2 separate regions of the Homo sapiens genome follow, and region 2 is linked to region 1. The links are contacts of gene promoters, found by promoter capture Hi-C in blood cells and fetal thymus (Javierre and others, 2016). All regions are on one chromosome and are shown on one strand. The core of a region is centred on a gene start or on the middle of the fragment in contact, and the rest is flanking DNA. Distances in the headings are between cores, read along the strand shown.

Evidence for each region. The method cuts DNA at HindIII sites, captures the fragments that hold promoters and counts their contacts. A CHiCAGO score of 5 or more calls a contact.
Region 2: a contact is called between a fragment that was not itself captured here and the fragment with the promoter of NR2F1-AS1 in region 1, in 1 of 17 cell types (total B cells). The highest score is 7.9, in total B cells.

What each region holds. Positions count from the first base shown.
Region 1 is chr5:93,577,671-93,584,771 of GRCh38, reverse strand. NR2F1-AS1 (NR2F1 regulatory antisense RNA 1) reads left to right here and starts at 3,553. Exons shown (of 8, transcript NR_186187.1): 1 at 3,553-3,630. NR2F1 (nuclear receptor subfamily 2 group F member 1) reads right to left here and starts at 1,550. Exons shown (of 3, transcript NM_005654.6): 1 at 1-1,550. RefSeq lists silencers at 421-500, 3,108-3,157 and an enhancer at 3,278-3,377. The HindIII fragment of the contact is 7,751 bases long and covers 1-6,500 here.
Region 2 is chr5:88,135,460-88,141,755 of GRCh38, reverse strand. No RefSeq gene overlaps it. Among named protein-coding and RNA genes, the nearest start is that of TMEM161B, 130 kb to the left of the region's middle. RefSeq lists a silencer at 268-317 and an enhancer at 180-681. The HindIII fragment of the contact is 1,283 bases long and covers 1,104-2,386 here.

The sequences.
Region 1 (7,101 bases), core at 2,304-4,803:
GTTTTGTTGTGGTTCCTGCTGTTTTCTTTCTCTCTTTTTGCAGCCCCCCCAGGCTCTCAGGCTCCCCCCCCAACACCCCTGCTCCCCTCGCCCGCTCCCCCCGCGCTCCGTTCCTGGGGGGGCCGCGCTCTCCTTCCCCCCTCCCCACCCCCCGGCGAGCAAGCTCCCTTCTCTCGCTTTTTTCTTCTTCCCCAAGTTGCAAAATCAGAAATGGCACAGGCGGCAGCCGGGAGCGGCGCGGGGCGCAGCGCCGGGGGCGGCGGGCATGGGCCACGGCGCGCGCACACACTCGCCCTCCGCCTCGCCCGCACCCCCGCGCACACACACACTCGCACACACAGTCGCTCACCCGCGCCGGGCGCCCGCCCGCCGGCCGCTCGGGCTACGCGCAGCGCGCGGGCTGAGCCGACATAGAGGAAGCCGGCGAGGGCGGAGGCGGCGGCGGCGGCGGAGGAGGAGGAGGTCGCGGCTGCAGGCGCCGCTGGAGCTGCCGCCGGAGCTGCTGCGGCGAGCGCCGCTGGAGGAGCCGGGACCCGGGCCGGAGTCCGAGCAGGAGTCGGGGCCGCAGCCGGAGCGCGAGCGGAGGCCGGGGCCGCCCGCGGCGCCGCCGCTGTCCCGGCGGGAGCCCTCGCCGGGCTCGGGAGTGCGGGGAGCGCGGTGAGCCGAGCAGGGCGCTGGGCGAGGCTGCCGCCGGCGATCAGGGCGCGCGGGTGTCGGGGGGCCAGGTCCAGGGCCGGACGCAGCCAGCCATTCAGGAAGGCAGCGCTGGAGAGCGGGAGGCAGCCGGCGAGGAAGATCACACACTTTGCTCTTTTTGTTGTGCCGGTGGCGCCGGGCTCTCGCTGCCTTCTTCTTTCGGGAGGTGACGGAAGGGGGAGAAAAATACGGGATAATTCACGCCGGCGACGAAATCACAGCGAAATAGAAAAAATAAAAATCAGAAGAAAATAATTGCCAAAAAAAGGAAAAAGGAAAAGCGAGAGAGACATCCAAAGTAGGTCGAATAAATAATCCTCTTCTTTTCCTCTTTCTTGCTCCTTCTTCTGCTTCTTCTGCTATAACACACAGAGCTAGTTAAAAAAACCCTGGAGATCGCCCAAAAATGTTCTTTTTTTAGTATTTTAAATAAGTGCTCTTCAGCCGGCAACCAACACCCTCCCTCCAAAAAAAATCATATATGTATAAAATAACGATAAGAAGAATACGAAGGGGGTGCCTCCTCCTCCTCCTCCTCCTTTTTTTTTTCTTTAAGTTTAGCCCTCTCTCTTCTGCAGGAATGGAGTAAAAGAGACAAGGAGGAGGGAGAAAAAGGAGAGAAAGGAGAAGAAGAAGGGGAAAACAACTAGTAGAATATGTAAGAAAAGAGAAAGAGAAGAGAGGTTCAGAGAAGAGAGGAGAGAGAGAGGAGAGGAGGGAGAGAGGGGGGAGAAAGAGGAGAGAGAGAGAGGAGAGAGAGAGAGAGAGAGAAGAGAAGAAGAGAGAGAGAGAGAGAGAGAGAGACCCAAAAATTGAATGCGTTTAAACGGGAGGACTCGCAGAGCAATGTTTCCGAAAGGGGGATCTGCGCGAATGTCTGTATATAGTGAACTTTGACACTACTATTGAAACTGACACGTTTCTATGGAGATCGCTGCCTTATATGGAGCTCGTGTCAAGGAGCCAAGAGAAGGGCTGCTGGCAACTGATAATCAAAGGCGACTGACTGGTCAGAGCCCTGAATCGGGGGGAGAGAAAATGGGAGGCTAAGGTTAGCCAAGCCTCCTGCACGCCATTGGTTGGAGAGCCCCTCCCCCCTCCTCTTTTGCTTTCTTTCTCCCCCCCCCGCTTAGCTACCTACAGACTGGGATGGTGTGGGGAGGAGGAGAGAAAGTGAGGGAGGGGGGTGTGTTTCTGACAAGCGCAATTTACATTGAGATCGCCCTGCGCTGCTATTTACTCTGAGACCTGATTAGTATGGGTCGTCTATGGTCACACACACACACACATACACACACACACACTTACGCTCACACCCCAGAGGGGGAAGGGATGACGAGGGGGAGAACGCCTAGCGATGGGCAAAAGGAGAATTAGAGGGAAATTATTTTGATTTCTTCTGAAAAGTTTTTAAAATTAGATTTTATGAGCGTGAAGAGAGTGTCATTGAAAATGTTTGGAAAAATTTTTAATGGGAATGAAACCCCCACCATTTTAATGATTTGTGAAATATACTGGATTTGGATTGTTTTCTTCTCTCACATATAAGCACAATCCAAGTCTGGATTCTGCTCATTTTATATCCTTTTTAGAAACAAGTAGAAACAGGGTAGGATCTCCCTATTTTTTAATCCAAAGTATACCTTGGTTTAAAAGGTTTAATGATGACAAAGCACACTCCTGGAATTTGCAGCTATTGCCACAAATTCGATCGGAATCAAGGGTTCCTATTTATCCCAAAGATGATTTTAAAAATAAACTTTCCAATCAATCCAATTTTTCCTTCTTCTTTTTTTTTTTTTTTATCACCTGGCTGTTCCAAACTCCAACAATGCTTCAATCATTATTAATAAAACAGTAGTAAGTCCCCATATTGTTGCAGGGTGGGGGGAGATTAGTGTGGCCAAGTCAGTCCCGGGAAAAGAGCAAACAAACGAGAAGATGGAGAGGGGGGGAGGCGGAGAGGGAGAGAGAAAAGGGGGAGGAGGAGAGAGAGAGACAGAGAGAGAGGAGAGGAAAGGAAAGAGAGGAGAGAGGAGAGCGCGCGAGATATTGAGAGAGAGAGAGAGAGAAGAGAGGAGAGGGGAGAGAGAGAGAGAGGAGAGAGAGAGAGACCCAGAGAGAGAGGAGAGAGAGAGAGACCCAGAGAGAGAGAGAGAGAGAGAGACCCAGAGAGAGAGAGAGAGACCGAGAGAGAGAGGAGAGAGGAGAGAGAGAGAGAGGAGAGAGAGAGAGAGAGGAGAGAGAGAGAGAGAGAGACGAGAGGGAGAGGGAGAGGGAGAGGGAGAGGGAGAGGGAGAGGGAGAGGGAGAGAGGAGAGGGAGAGGGAGAGGGAGAGGGGGAGAGAGAGAGAGAGAGAGAGAGAGAGAGAGAGAGAGAGAGAGAGAGAGAGAGAGAGAGAGAGAGACCGAGACCCCGATTCCTGAATCCTGAAGGTGATTGGTCGCGGGAGGAGGGGCAGGCGGGAGGAGCGGGTCCCGCGGCGGGGCTTGCAGGAATCGCTGGCTCCGGCTGCCACCTAGCGGACGGGAGCCGCTCCCGGGCGGCACACAGCCGAGTCCCTCCTCCCCTCCCCGCAGGCAGCCTGTGCCTTTTCTCCAAACGAAGACAGCACTTTGAAAATTCTTTCAATGGATTTTTTTTTCCTTGAAAGATCGTACTGGGGGAAAATGATACTTCTATTAGTTACATATTCTCCAATCGCATACTCGCACCCCCCTCGTTTTGAGATCGCTCCCCTAGGCAGGCTCAGGCGGGCGCGGAGCCGCGCGGAGTGACAAAGCCGCCGCTGCCGCCGCCGGGGGTGGGAGCCGCGCTCGCCCGCCCGCCCCTCGACTCGCGAGGGCGTAAAAGTTTGTCTCAGCTCGAGCATTCCTAGCGCCAACACGCCCTCAGGTAAAGGTGGAAGTAAATGGCCACGCTGTATTGACAGAGGTAGGGTTTGTTTTTTAATACTCGTTCTCACTTTAAGTCTCACCAGGGAGGGGTTTGGGAAGCACTGCGTGTTTGGGGGACGTTTTGCGCTTCCTGGTCTCTCCAGCCTACAAGTCGGGAGTCGGCGACCGCTTAGTGACGAGCGATGATTTTAAAGAGCAGAATAAAAGGTTTTCCCGTGCCTGCCCCACAGCCCCTCCAGCTCGAATAATGGAGAACTGTCAATGCACTCCGCGAGCGGTGGCCCATTGTACGCAGCTGATGGCGAGGAGGCGACTGGGGGTAGCAGGGGCTCCTTGCCCTCGTCCCTATGCCCAAATAAACGCGCAAACGCGCTCCCGTCTTCTGGTCAGTTAAAAGGTGAAACGAACACGATTAAAATAGACCAAAAGAAAAGAAAGAAAAGAAAACCTTTCTATGTACAGATTCTAAATCGTACTCCCCATACAGTCAGAGGCAGGGAGTCGAGGGCAGAGGCAGCAGGCGGAGAGAGGGAGATAGGGCGAGGGAAGGAGAACGCGGAGAGAGACGAAGGGAGTGGGAGACCAGCGACAGCGAGCGCCAGGGCACCGCAGGCACACTGGATGCCCAGTCCGCCGGCCCAGCCGCCCTCGGACCCTGGACCGTGCGTCGTGGGCACCAGAAACGAGACTCGGCCAAATCCTGCCTCACCAGGCAAGTAACATAATGGTTGTCGTTTCTCTTGAACTTGGGGTTGGTAACGGGCAGGGCCGGGAGGCAGTCTTGGCTCGCACGGCCTCCGCAGGCCGAGAGCAGAGTCTAGGCAGCCAGGGCGGGACGAGGAGAACTTTCTTCGGGGCCTGCTCGGGAGTTGCCCTCGCTCGGCCTCTGTCTCGCCGTAGCGCTAAGGCGAGGATCGCGGCCGCCGCGCCTCCTTGGAGGGGAGGATCGTGCCAGGCGAGCAGCAATCCACATTCAAAACAGGCTGCTCCCACCCCCACCCGCTATTCCCTCTCTCTCCTAGGCGGGAAACGGATGCCCGGGCGGAGGACGGGGACCCGCACGTTTAACACCGGCCCGGCTGTTCCTGCTGGTGCCGAGCGCGACCCGCGGTGGAGCCGGCTGCAGAGTCCGGCCCGGCTGGCCCTTGTGCCCGCGCCTTGCCTGGTTACGGCCTGAACCTGGCGAGCTTGGCTGCAGCCGCCCACCTGCGGACGCCGTTTGTAACGCCATCCCCTAATGTAACGCGATCGATGGCTGCCTGTCTGATGTGGGCGATAGTGTCAGCGGATTAAAAGGGACATCGAGCCGCTCTCCCGAGCAGACAACCTGCGGCGGCGGCGAGAGAGCACCGGGATTCGCAGCCTAGCAGCCGAGCCAGACTCCCTGCGCCGCTGCCAGCCGGCTGGGGGCGGGGAGGGGGTCGCCTCCCAGGGGTGGGGACAGAGGGGGTGTGTTGAAAGGAAGAGGCTCAATTAAAACCAACAAGAGCGCTTTCCTCCGTGCGGGGCAGGGGCGTGCGTTTGCGTCAGAGGGCGCGCGGGGGGCGGGGGCAGCCGATGCTGGGGACTGCACCCGGGGGCTGGGGGGTCTCGGAAGCGAGGAGGCCTTGCCTAGCTGGGCTGGCCCGGGGTCAGGCCCTGTAGGTGAGGGCCAAGGCGAGACGGGATGACAGCTGAGCCTGCCCGGGAGCAGAGGCGCCCACCCATCCTTACTGTGGGCTCTCCGTGCCCCCACAGAGCTTTCAAACTTGAAAGAGGCCCCTGGGACCCGGCGTGACCCTAGCGGTGGGGAGAAGTTGGGCCCGCGAGGCCTCAGGCGAAGCCGCGGGCTCCTCCGGAAGGAAGGAGGAGGGTGAAGTCCCCTGTCCTAGTCCCAGGGGTGGGAGTGGGAAGCTGTTGGTGGTGATGCCCGGAGCAGCGGAAGCCCGCGGCTTTTCGGAGGAGGGGAGCGGCTCGCACTCCTACGGGGCATCCTTGCCAACTTTCTGTCACAAGAGGGGGCGGGGAGAAACCAAGGCTTTTCGAGGAGGGCGCTGTCCCCCTCTGGAACTCGTCCGGCCTGAGTGGCACTTAGAGCTCAGTTTCTCTTCGGAAGCCTGTGCTCCCCGACCGCGGTTGCACACCCACAGGGCGCCCCACTTGTGCTCATAGCCCTGCCTCCAGCAAAAATGTCTTCCCTAGAGGCACTGAGAGGTCAGCTTAGTTCCTGGGAAGCCCTTTCTTTCTTTCTTCAAGGCTCTCTTTTGATACTGGTCCCAATTGGCACACTTGTCCTGGGCCTAATGCGACCCACACTCAACCAGGAAATAATGATATCTGTTGTTGTGGGGTAGGGTACCTAATAGAAAACTGATCATAGTTTTCGAGAGTACTTAGATCCCCCAATTGGGAAATCCTACATACTTGTCCAGGCACGCTCAGCTGCAGGAGCAGAAAACGCAGTTGTAGTGTCCACGTTTCTTTCACCCACCCCCTCTTCTTCAGATCTCTCTCCCTCCCTTCTAGGCCAGGCCTTTCACCTCGGAACCTTAAGCTGAGTCTGGACGTGGTTCTTGGACTCGGACCGCTGTGGCTCTTGCCTCAGCATCCTACCCGAGGCCTCCAGCCAGGCCCACAGGGGCTCAGCCCTCTCCAGGGTCTCTCTTTCGGTTTGGCGGGTCTGGGAACTGTAAGGGCCTTGCCGGGGCCTGGGCTCCCGGGAGCCTCCCTTCCTTCCTCTGCCTTCCTGGTTCCCACAGACCTGTTCAGTGCACACTAGATCTTTAGTGTAGTTCCCCAAAAAGGCGATGAGAAGGTACCGCTCCGCTTGGGGAAAGGAATTAGGCTGTAAGCCTATAGTACCCCTTGCGGGCTGCTAGCATCAAGCTCAGCGTTAATCACGTTTTAAAAGACATACCAGACAAAGCTTGATCTCTCCCAGCTTGCCACCCAGTAAATTGTGATCTGGTGAGAGAGGAAGAGAAGCACAGATCGGTTTGGCTGCACATTCAGGGTTGACTTGCGTTCCAGGCCCCAGAATCCGGATCTAAGCGGACTGTCTGTCTGTTAACATATCCTCTCCCTCCATATCTTTCTTACCACGAGGCTGAACCATTTTTCACTAATTCTATGGGCTTTTTTTGATATTGATATCTTGGTCTCCCGAAAGTCATTCATTTTAGCTTTTTGGTAAGTCACACTGAACAAAAGTGGCCTTGTAAAAACATTTTCTAAATCTAGTTCAAGAGCCATGGGACCCTACAAATGATCAGATATGTGTAGGAAATTCTCTTTTATACCTCTTCCCTACCTCAAAATCGTTAAAAATGGTATTATTCTGTTTAGCAAGACCACAGAACAGAACTAACCCCGTTTTATCGAGCCCATCTGGAGAGATGAACATGCCTGCAATCATTGAGAAAAAGGTCAGTGCCTCTGATCTTGCTGCAGACCTTTCCCAAAGAGCTTATTTGAAAGGTGCTGAATCAATTAGTCTCCCCTGGCATGAGATTAAAGCCAGGAAGGACAT
Region 2 (6,296 bases), core at 496-2,995, 5.4 Mb after region 1:
GCGGGGGCGGAGGCGGGGGCGGGGGAGGAGGGAAAAGGAGCCTTTAACCAGAACAAAGATAGGCCATCGCGCCCCCTTGCGGACAGGCTGCATATTGCGCCGACCAGGCCCGCCCCGGCTTTCTTTAGTCGAATGAATCTTGTAATTTCCTCCGTTAAACCATTCAGGGGCCGCCTCTCAGACCCAGCCCCCGGCCATCAGCCAATCACCAGGCGCCATGCAAATCATCTCTTCCGTTCTCCAAACCCGCGTCAGCCTCTGCGGCTGCTCTGGCCACCCCGCCCCAGCCTCATTTCCTCCCCTCCCCTCCCCTTCCCTCCTTCGCCCCCGCCCGAGCAGCTGCCGGGGAAGAGGGCAGTGCTGGGTGCCTCATGCATATTCAGACCGATCCTCCTCCTCCCTCCACCTCCTGCCCCCTCCTGCCGCCTCCTCCCTTTTCCCCGGCCGCGCCCGCGCTCCTGGACGCGCAGTTCTCCGAGCTCTGGTCCTGAGCCGCTGTTTCCCAGAAGAAGGCCTACGTGAGCTCTTGGAGCAGACGAGGGAAAGGGAGGAAGGCTCTACCCTTAAAATCCTCTCGAAGGTCAAGTTTGAGGCTTGCCGAAAGGAGGAGAAAAGTGTCGAAAAATGCCGCTACAGGGTTTGCGGGAAGGTTCTGCACGGAGACTGGTTGGAAATGCCTTTCTCCCCCTAAATACCAGATTAATTTCTCTGAAACACACAATGTATTTGTCATGCCCAAAGGATGATGATAGATGGTTTTTTAAGCCCAGAGTAAAGTGTGCATTTGTCTTGTATATCAAGGCTACAATGAAACCACGAAGAACTGGAGAGGAGATCACCCAGCGTTGGCTGCTTAATAGGAGCGGGGAGAGCGAGTGAGGAGTAGAGACGGGGGGCGGGGCGAGTGGTGGCCCAAGACCTGCTCCAGGTGGGCTGTTCCCTGTCGGCTCCTGGAACAGGACGGGTAAGCCGACTAAGAGCGCAAACGGGGACCCATGAAAAGAAAAGAAAAAACAAGATCCGGGAATAGTTTGTTACTGTTATTTACATCCAGACTCTGGTTTTCCGGCCCTTTACAGCTGCTGGTGAAGAGTATTCAAGCTTTGAATACTGCTCTGAACTGACCTTGAGGCACATTGAGAGGAAAAATCACTGGAGAAAATCGCGGTTTGTGTAGTGCTTTGAGATCCTCTAACGCGAAAGCAAGAGAATTGTGAAGTGACCTTGTTTCATAGATCTCTCTACGTCCACATTGGAATACTAAGGGACTTTTTAGTGAGAATTGAGTCAGTTCCCCCTTAAATCTTACACCGCAGAGAAGTGAGTAGAGACCGCAAGATTTAAAATAACATTTTGTCAGCTTTTATTCTTTCAACACATTTTTATGGAGTGGTGCTTATTGTGTGCCAGGTACACAGCATCTTTTTCCATGCGAAACACATTACGCAGGCAGTGATTTGCAGGTGTACCGGAAATTAGGGAAAGGGATAGGAATTCTGGATGCTTTCTGTTCTGGAATTGCTCATTGTCTTGCAAGAAGAAGAGATATAATAACAGATAAATATGGCACAGTGTAACATGGAGCATGGAAACAGCTTAAATATCTGTCAAAAGTGCAGTGAATTAATGTATTGGCATATCCCTACAGTGAAATACTCTTTATGAATTGACTATCTTAAAAGCAATGTTGGATGAAAAAAAGCAAATTGCAAAAGAATACATGTGATATTGGCCGGGCGCGGTGACTCACGCCTGTAATCCCAGCACTTTGGGAGGCCGAGGAGGGTGGATTACGAGGTCAGGAATTCGAGACCAGCCTGGCCAAGATGGTGAAACCCGTCTCTACTAAAAGTACAAAAGTTAGCCAGGGGCGGTGGCAGGCGCCTATAATCCCAGTTACTCGGGAGGCTGAGGCAGGAGAATTGCTTGAACCCTGGAGGCGGAGGTTGCAGTTAGCCGAGATCGCTGCATTCTAGCCGGGGCAACAGAGCAAGACTCCGTCTCAAAAAAAATGTGATATTGATGCAATATTAATATCTATTAACGTAAAATTATCCTTCCCATAACAATTTGTTGGTACGTAACTATGTAATAAAAGTATAAAAGCATGTTGGGGAAGAATGCGTGCGAACTCCAGCATGGGGGAGACCCCTGGAAGAGAAGGAGCCTTTATCCACATGGATATTGGCTATATGAGTAATGTTTATTTCCTTAAAAAAATCTTAGAAAGAAGCCAGAACATAGAGAGGTATGGGAAGGCTTTACAGAAGAGCTAACTTTGAAGCTAAGTTCTTGAAAGTGATAAGCAGGAGTTTAGTAGGAATATTTGAAAGACAATTCTTCTTCTTGAATACATGAGAATGAGAAATATAAACTATGTGAAGCTTTTGAACTTTTGATATTTAGGTTAAATACAGTACAATTCACTTTTTCAGGGATATAAATTCTTTGAGTTTTACCAGTGTGTAATGTAATCACGACCACAAGCAAGAAACAGAATTTCATCATCCCCCAAAACTTCTTTGTGCTGCCCTTTGCAGTCAATCCCTCCCAATATCCTGTAACCCTGGAAACCACTGATCTGTTTTCCATTCCTGTAGTTTTGCCTTTTACAGAATGTCATATAAATAGAATCATACAGTATGTAGCTTTCTTCTGTGTGGCTTCTTTTTACTAGCATAATGGATTTGATCTTCATCTGTGTTGTTGGGTGTATCAACAGTTTGCTCTTTTTGATTGCTGAGTAGTATTTCATTGCATGAACGTACCACAGATGGTTTATCCTTTTAAAAGTTGTTGAAGGCCATTTGAGTTGTTTCTGATGTACAGTTTTTTTTTAATTTTTTTATTTTATTTTTTTGAGATGGAGTCTCGCTCTGTCGCCCAGGCTGGAGTGCACTGGTGCGATCTTGGCTCACTGCAAATTCTGCCTCCTGGGTTCACGCCATTCTCCTGCCTCAGCCTCCTGAGTAGCTGGGACTACAGGTGCCTGCCACTAAGCCCGGCTAATTTTTTGTATTTTTAGTAGAGACGGGGTTTCACCATGTTAGCCAGGATGGTCTCGATCTCCTGACCTTGTGATCTGCCCGCCTCAGCCTCCCAAAGTGCTGGGATTACAGGTGTGAGCCACCACACCCAGCCCTGATGTACAGTTTCTTAATTCCAGGGACTGGGTTCATTGCTGTCATGTATAATGGGGATCTTCTGTGAATGGCTATTATATTACATATAATAAGTGTGTACCATTATTTCCCCTGAGAGGCTAATCTATAATCTGGTGTTAAATACTGTGTAGAGCTAGGTAAGAACCTACCCAGCCAACTATATAGAAAAACACACATGTTCACAGTATTTCAGAAATTGCCCTTCAGCTTACTTACTTGTAGTGAGTTCAATAGAAGATACTCACTAAAGATGCCAGCTGATGACCAGCATGTGTGAACTTACATATATGTAGTGGAGGATTTAAATTTCTTACTGTTTGAGCACCTATGACTTTCCTAGTGTGGAATTATTCTTTGTTTCTAAATATTTCCTAAATTCTCCTTGAAAGATTGACCTTTGCTTTCTGAGGTCTGAGTGGAGGTTTACTTGCAGGCAGTATCCCCATACATTTGATAGAGGATGACAAATTCACATAACCAATTAAGGAGTTCTGAGCACTTGTAAGGAGTCACAGTAATTCCAGATTCTGGACTGTACTGTCAACACTCAAGTGTTTGATTTCCTCTTGTTTGTTTCTCATCAGGACCCTGAAAAGCTGATAGCTAGGGTACATAGATTGGGTGCTGAGTTCAGGCACAGAGTAAGGAAGCCTGTGGGTACATAAGCACTTATTAATGTATCCCTTGAATTCCAAAGTCAAATATCAACTGTTTGTTGATATTTGGAGCCTTATTTATTTATTTATTTAAAAAACCTCTAGTTCCTCATGGCTATTTGAAAGCTCTCTTTCAAAGGCAGCTGTAAGAGTCAATAACGTGCAAGATGGTAAGGAGAAGTGTAAATAAACATTCACAGATTGATGACCTTTTGGGTGTGGTTCAGAGTCAAGAAAGGACAATCCCAACTGTAAAGACTGATGGCAGTATTGGGATGCAAGGGGTGCTATTGTCTAATCCTAGTCTTCTTGCTAGAATAGGCTGTGTTTTGAACTTAAAATTGTATCCAGTTGCTACATGTGAGAGTGCATGTCATCCCTAGTTTTAGTTCTTATAATCAGCATCACCCTCTGGCAAATGATACTGGAAAAAAGTTTTAATTAACAATTCAACTAAACAAATGGTAAAATAAACAATAGGAATTTCCTTTGGATACATTCTTAAGTAAACGTTATAAAGGTTATAAATCAAGGAATGTAAATGCCACATTTTCACTTTGTTAAGTTCTGTGCCACCTTGGAAAAAAGCCTACTTTATTTGTACCACAATTTTATCTCTTATAAAAGGGCAGAGGACTAAACATGTTGCTATTTATGATTTAAGATTCCCCCGGCAAGAAGCACTTTATGAACCCTAGACTTTGCTGTGATAGAACTCTTTCATTAGTCATGCCAAATTGCAATGATTGAGGCATCCACCATTTTCCCAATTAATTATAACACACCCAAGCTTCATGTTTCCTGGTGCACTTTGAAGATTTTGAGAAAGTGGTCATTTCCTCACAATAACCTAATTTACAGCCCCTATTCAAACAAGGTAATTTAGAGCATGCACTCTTAACTTGTTTAGTAAACATGTCCAAGCTAAGAAGTGTTGGCCCTGTGAAGCTCATCAGTCCAGTGACTTAACAGTAGTTCTTCCATTAAAAGAAAATCACTGTCCGGGTGCGGTGGCTCACACCTGTAATCCCAGCACTTTGGGAGGCTGAGGCGGGCAGATCACAAGGTCAGGAGATTGAGACCATCCTGGCTAACATGGTGAAACCCTGTCTCTACTAAAAATACAAAAAAATTAACCAGGTGTGGTGGTGGGCGCCAGTAATCCCAGCTACTTAGGAGGCTGAGGCAGGAGAATGGCCTGAACCCGGGAGGCAGAGCTTGCAGTGAGCTGAAATTGTGCCACTGCACTTCAGCCTGGGCAACAGAGTGAGACTCCGTCTCAAAAAAAAAACAAACAAACAACAAGCAAACAAAAAAAAAGAAGATCACCTTTGCGCTTTGTGCTACAAATAAATTGGTGCTGACTTAGTACCAAGACTGTGATTTCTAATGAAAATTAAACTATTGATGGTAAAACAAAATAACAGAAAAAAAAAAAGAAGAGACACCTTTCAAATGACCACCAAATTCATAATCATGGATTAAGCCAGTGAAGATTTTCTCTTGCAGGCACTGTCTTTTAAAATGAGATTCTGTTCAAGAGTGTTACAGTAGCATAATATAAATCGGTGGCTATGGCTTTTAAACTCTGGTTCTTTCTCCTGTAAAGCAGCATAAGTGAGTGCCTTATCATAACGTCGGAATAATGACATCTCAAGGCCTGCATGTTGCATTCACAAGCAAGGAGAGTCCCAGAACGAGGTTGACTCAGCAGTACCTGACCAGGCTGCTTAATGCACTGATGAATACCATTGCCCCTAGGAATTAAATATAGAGGTGCCTGGAGCTTGTGTAAAGTTCTCTGTGCCATTTGAAAAAGGTACTCGGAGAAAAGATGGGCTGATTTTTAATTTTAATGTTTTACTCATCGGTTTAAGTACATTTATGGTTTGCTTTGCAAAATGTCAACAGACATCCCAAGTGGTTAACATTTTTAAAAGACTGAATATTCTGTATTTACTCTAATATCATTTTTAAAATGTGGTCATCAATGCCTACAGGTTCATCTGTTAAGACAATCCATTCAAATGATTATTAAAAAATAAATTCAATAACAATTTGTTATTTTCCCCATTGTCTCGAATTCTCGTTGATTAGAATTCCAGCAACATAAAAGTAAAGGTTTCATTTTAGTTTTGGTGCATTTAGGAAGGACTGCAAGTGAAATTTCCATCTGTAAGATGGCTAAAGAATACTCTGAGAAGGAATTATGTGTTACCTACTAGTATTAGTGTTCATTATTATATTACACAGACCATTATACATTTGTATATTATATACTCGATTGACAAAGCACTTTCATATAAATTATCTCACAACAATCTTATAAGACAGATTGTTAAAGGTAATTATTATCTTTATTTTACATTGAAAGATACTGAGGTTCAGAAATATTTAAAATAGCTGTCATTTCAAGGAGTATACTTAGTGGCAAGTAGTATTCTAATAACTTTACATATTTTAATTCCTTTGATCT